2 separate regions of the Homo sapiens genome follow, and region 1 is linked to region 2. Evidence: promoter capture Hi-C in human tissues and cell types (Jung and others, 2019). All regions are on one chromosome and are shown on one strand. The core of a region is centred on a gene start or on the middle of the fragment in contact, and the rest is flanking DNA. Distances in the headings are between cores, read along the strand shown.

Region 1 (2,704 bases), core at 45-2,544, 810 kb before region 2:
TGTCCCGCACGCGCCACGAGCACGCTTGCAAAAGACGGGGAGGTGGCGGGGACAGAGACAGAGGAAATGAGAGAGAGAGAACGAAAGAGAAAGGAGAGAGAGGGAGAGAGAGAGGGAGAGAGAAGAGGGGAAGGAGAAGAGAGAAAAAAGAAAAAAAGGTCTGCTCTGGGATTATTATTATTATTTGGGTTAATACTCTTATCTTTGCATTCCAGCCGGAAGGTCGGCTCCAAGCCTTCTTTCCTGCCCTCCTCCTTCTTGAATTGGACACCATCCCTGTTGCCGCCTCCTGAGTCAGGAAAGGGATAGAACTTTCCCAGGGAGGTGAGGGGTGTCCCCGTGGCGATTTCCCGGTTACTTCCTCCCAGCAGATATCCCTGTGGAGAGGAAACGTTCCCGACTTCCCTCCCCGCGACCTCCTCCCTAGAAACGAGCGGAGACGTCAGGCTGCTTCTGGGTTTATTTTGTAAACCCAGACAGTCAACTGCACTTGGCGCAGGCAAAGCCTCCTTGGCCCTTGCCCCAAAGCAAAGCTCTAAGAGGTCCGGGGATTCCTTGGCCTGGGTGGGGAGAGAGACGTGACCTGTGCGGCCGCCGCGAAGTGGGTCTCCAAGGGTGAGACCCCTCCCTCGGTGGCTGGGCGTGTCCCCTTTAGCCTTCCTGGACCCCATTACCGCCCGGCTTGGAGCTGGACGAAGGGACGTAATTGGTAGGCGAGTGGGTTGGGCATCTTGACTCAAGGACCAGAGTCTGGGCCTCTGGTGTGGACCCCTGCCCCCTCCCCGCTCTGCGCGGCCGTTCTAGAGGTCCGGGTGGGAGCTGGAGGAGGAAAGCGGGAGGAGGCGGCGAGGCCGCGGGGCGGTATGAGGGGGCGCCGGCCGCCTCTCGGATTGGCTGCGCCGCCGCCCCCTCCGCATCGCGCGCCCCCCACCACGCGCCCAGCCTGCTCCCTCCCGCAGGCTCCGAGCTGCTGCCCGCAGGAGGCAGGACGCGCAGGGGTGGGACCGGCGCCCCAGCCCGTCTCCCGGCCCCGGGCGCGCGGGAACCCCGGGTCCTGCAGCCTCCCGAGTGCGGAGAGGCGGGGCCGCCCGCTGCCGCCCGGCTGCCTGCGCCCCCTCCCGCGGCCCCGGCTCTGGGAGCGGGGCGCCCCGCGCGCGGGCACACGGCGGCCAGAGCGCCGAGGCGGTACCTTCAGCCTGCAATGAGAGGAACCCGGGAGAGCCCCCGGGAGCCAGCGAAGAGCTTGGCTGCTGCGTCCAGGGCTGCTGCTGCCGCCGCGGCTGCTTGAAACTCCTCAAAGTTGAGAGCCGGCTAGAGGGTGCCGCCCGCCGGGAGCCGGAGGGAAAGGAAGTCGGAAGGTGCAAGAGTGACAGACACGGACAGACGGACGCGCAGACCTTCGGAAGGCACTGCGTAGGCAGCCTCCCCGGAGCCCACGAGGCTCCCCAGCACCGTGAGTTTTTTCCTGGATGGGTGGTTGCTAAGTATTTCCGTTTAATTGTTTGTAGCGTACGTTTGCGTATAGTTGTGTCTGTTGGAGGGAGTTTAAAACAACAACAACAACAACAACAACGCAGGATGCACCTTAGGAAAAAATTGAGTTTCTGATGGTGGGTGAGACGGTGGGTTGTATGGAGAGAATGTGACTGTACATTTTTATAAGCAGGACTAACCCAGGAAAGAGGAAAAAATACATTTAACAGTGAAGAGGCAACACAGAGCTCCCTATTGTGAAATAAAACCCATTTCAAAAGTTATTGGAAAGAAAGTAAGGTATGGCTCTTATGGGTTAACTAGTGGTAGTCAGTTTCTGCTTTTTACTCCCTCTGAATTATTAATTGTTTGCCAGGTTCACTGGTGGGAGGCTGAGCCGGTGGAAAAGACACCGGGAAGAGACTCAGAGGCGACCATAATGTCGTTACGTGTACACACTCTGCCCACCCTGCTTGGAGCCGTCGTCAGACCGGGCTGCAGGGAGCTGCTGTGTTTGCTGATGATCACAGTGACTGTGGGCCCTGGTGCCTCTGGGGTGTGCCCCACCGCTTGCATCTGTGCCACTGACATCGTCAGCTGCACCAACAAAAACCTGTCCAAGGTGCCTGGGAACCTTTTCAGACTGATTAAGAGACTGGACCTGAGTTATAACAGAATTGGGCTTCTGGATTCTGAGTGGATTCCAGTATCGTTTGCAAAGCTGAACACCCTAATTCTTCGTCATAACAACATCACCAGCATTTCCACGGGCAGTTTTTCCACAACTCCAAATTTGAAGTGTCTTGACTTATCGTCCAATAAGCTGAAGACGGTGAAAAATGCTGTATTCCAAGAGTTGAAGGTTCTGGAAGTGCTTCTGCTTTACAACAATCACATATCCTATCTCGATCCTTCAGCGTTTGGAGGGCTCTCCCAGTTGCAGAAACTCTACTTAAGTGGAAATTTTCTCACACAGTTTCCGATGGATTTGTATGTTGGAAGGTTCAAGCTGGCAGAACTGATGTTTTTAGATGTTTCTTATAACCGAATTCCTTCCATGCCAATGCACCACATAAATTTAGTGCCAGGAAAACAGCTGAGAGGCATCTACCTTCATGGAAACCCATTTGTCTGTGACTGTTCCCTGTACTCCTTGCTGGTCTTTTGGTATCGTAGGCACTTTAGCTCAGTGATGGATTTTAAGAACGATTACACCTGTCGCCTGTGGTCT
Region 2 (2,700 bases), core at 1-2,500:
TATCATCTTGCTTTTCCAGTGGTGATGAAAAAGCAAAATTCACCCAAATACAATGACTACTGTCTACTTGAAACGCTCCAGGTAGTTAATTTTTGAATTATGATTCACCTTCCCTTTCCTGTTTTGATGAACCATGAACAGGAGACTGAACCTTCCCTATCAATAAAAAGCTCGCGTTTCCACCCTGCAAATTCGCGCTATGACAGTCTAATTGGCTGAGGCGCAGGTGGGATTTCCTGTCGCCATTTTAAGACACAACTCCTCTGCAAGCAAGTGCCCAGCCAGTGAAAGGGGGCTGTGTCTGAAACAAAGAGTAAGCGGGAAAAAAGGGAACCAGGCCCAGTTGCCCCTGCTCCCCTCCATGCCGCTCCCTCGTCCCCCGGACTTGGAGCGCCCCAGCTCCGTTAACCTGGACGCACCAGGTCCTTCGGTCGGGACCACGTGGGGTCTCCAGGCCCTCCAAGAGCTGGCCCCCGGCTCTTTGCGCCTAGGCCGGTGCTTTCTCGGTGCTCAGCAAATCCTTCTGGTTCACCTCACACCCAGTCCCCAAAGCAGAGCTCCACAGGGCAGATCTCAGGAAGGGCTGACCAGGTCTGCGGGTGCTGGATCCGGAAGAGGGGAGGTGCCTCCCGCTTCAGGTTAGGGACAAAGGGTTTTTAAAGGTGCCCGAGCTCCCCGCCGCCCCTGCCACTTCGGTCCCCTTCCCGCCAACCCGGGCCATCTGCAGGCTGTGCCCAGGGCCAGCCCTCCGCTCCAACGCTGCCCGTAGTCCCAGGCGCTGCCCGCGGCTCTCCGGGCTGCGCTCGGACCTGCCACTCCCGCGGCCATCCTCATGCTGCGCCCTTCCCACAATGCAACTCCCTCGCTCCTTCGGCCCCGGCGGGGCTCTGGCGTACCCAAAATGCAGGCCCCAGCGGAACGCACAGCCCTCCTGTCCTCCGCCGGTGCCCCTTTAGCCGCCCCACCCCCATCCCTAAGGGCTCTCATTCTCCAGCTGCAGCCGCAGCTGGGTTCCGAACACGCCGCCGGGCCCCGGGAGGGAGAGGGGCAGGTGCCAGGGCGGCGCGCAGCCTCTGCTCCCGGTGCCAGCTTCAGTGCGCCGGGCACACGCGCGCCCCGCAACCCCTCCCTCACCCTTTCCCCGTTGCTCAATCTCCGCCAGCCGCGGTCGCTGCATCGTCAGAGAGCTGCAAGAGGGAGGCAGCAAGGTGCGGCCGCCAGCAGTGACACCATGTGACCGGCACGGCTCACTGACACGCAGCTTTGGTTAAAGAGCGGGCGCACAGGAGGGGAGGAGACCGCGCGCGGGACGGGGAGGAATGGCCTGTCCGCGTTAAACCATCACAAGCCATGGTTGCGGAAGGGCCACGCGTCCCCCAGTAGGAGAATGACTCCGATTCGTGACCCTCAGCGCCGGTGCATGTCGATGTAAGTGCGAGGCCGGCGAGCAGAGTGTGAGTGGGGGTTGGTGGTGAGGGGAGATTCTGATGCAATCGGCCCGGAAAGGAGGAGAGCCAGGCGAGCGCGGACTGGGGCGGCCACGCCACTCCGCCAGAAGGTCGCCAGGAGCCTCCGCCCTTCACCTTCCTCCGAAATCCGCCAGGCCACGCCAAGCTCCCTGCCCAACCCTTACTGACGGGGGCCACATTTTCCCGGCCTCCGCAGCCAGACCTTGACACAAAGGACATCAAACTGCCGAGGGTAAAAACCCCGGAAGGGCGGACACCTCCACATCGCCTTTTGCCACCTTTCCCTTTATTTCCGGAGGTAAGGTGATTATCCGTTCCCGGGGAGGGCTGGGCGAGCGGCAAGGGGAGATTTAGATGTCGGAGGAGGAGGTAACGTAGAAATCATCTCTGCGGGCGTGAAAGCAGAGAGAGCTCGGCTGTGCCCGATGCTTTCGGATGTTGCTTTTAGGAGAGGAAAAGTCCAGGTCTCCTGTGCTTCCCGAACGCACGCGGCAGCGGGAGGAAGCGCCAGGGCCCCCGAGTTCACCTTTGCGTGGGCTGTGGCTTACTTTTTGGTTTGTTTTCCTGTGACTTTGGTGTGTTTTCCTGTGGCTGTGGCAGAGTGTGGTACCAGATCTGGTTCCATTTTTACGAGAGCCAGGAACCACGCACGTCTGGAGGGAGAGCGCAGCTGACCCGAGGGCGCGACCGTGTTCTGGGAGTGTTTGAATCCCCGGCCTTTGGTGAAAATTTCCTGTGTCCGCAAGGCCCAGAGGAGATCGTGTGATGTCCGGGGGGTGCTGCGTGCGGCCGGCTGGGTAGCGGCCGCGGACCACCACTAAACCGGGGCATGTTTGCCGTCCTTCCTGGTGCTCTGCCCCTCTGTAACGCGGGGAAGTAGGAGGGCGCGGGGAGAAATTACTAAAGGATGCTTGCAGTGACTCACTGTCCTTTCCTGCCCTGAAGAGGATTTTCTAAAATGCAGAGGGTGGCAGGGGACAGAGGTAGTGTTTTTTCGAGAGCCGGGATGTGCTGGAGCCAGCGAACAAAAGGCCACCTCTTGCGCGGTCTTGGGCGCAGACTGCTCTCGCTTCCAGTCCCACCTCCTCCCCAACCCCCGGCACCTAGTTCGCGTCCCTAAACGTTGCCGCAGAGGCCTTTAAACGCGTGGGTCGGTGCCGGGAGGAGAGCGCATCTTCGCCCTTGTGCGAGCCCCTTGCCCCCTAAATTATCCACCTCCTGGCGCATGGGG

The links. Contacts are between HindIII fragments. The study calls those that stand out against the background at their distance.
Region 1: the fragment with the promoter of PCED1B here is called in contact with the fragment with the promoter of SLC38A1 in region 2 in 1 of the 25 tissues and cell types used here (mesendoderm cells).

Annotation. Positions count from the first base shown.
Region 1 is chr12:47,078,211-47,080,914 of GRCh38, reverse strand. PCED1B (PC-esterase domain containing 1B) reads right to left here and starts at 1,294. Exons shown (of 4, transcript NM_138371.3): 1 at 1,190-1,294. AMIGO2 (adhesion molecule with Ig like domain 2) reads left to right here and starts at 956. Exons shown (of 3, transcript NM_001370299.1): 1 at 956-1,453; 2 at 1,667-1,773; 3 at 1,850-2,704. The coding sequence starts at 1,913. The HindIII fragment of the contact is 14,777 bases long and covers 1-2,704 here.
Region 2 is chr12:46,267,593-46,270,292 of GRCh38, reverse strand. SLC38A1 (solute carrier family 38 member 1) reads left to right here and starts at 1,250. Exons shown (of 17, transcript NM_030674.4): 1 at 1,250-1,767. LOC105378248 (a long non-coding RNA gene) reads right to left here and starts at 1,222. Exons shown (of 2, transcript XR_001749101.1): 1 at 1,135-1,222. RefSeq lists silencers at 701-800, 881-1,060 and enhancers at 1,471-1,570, 1,621-1,670, 810-1,792, 1,791-1,850. The HindIII fragment of the contact is 6,474 bases long and covers 1-2,700 here.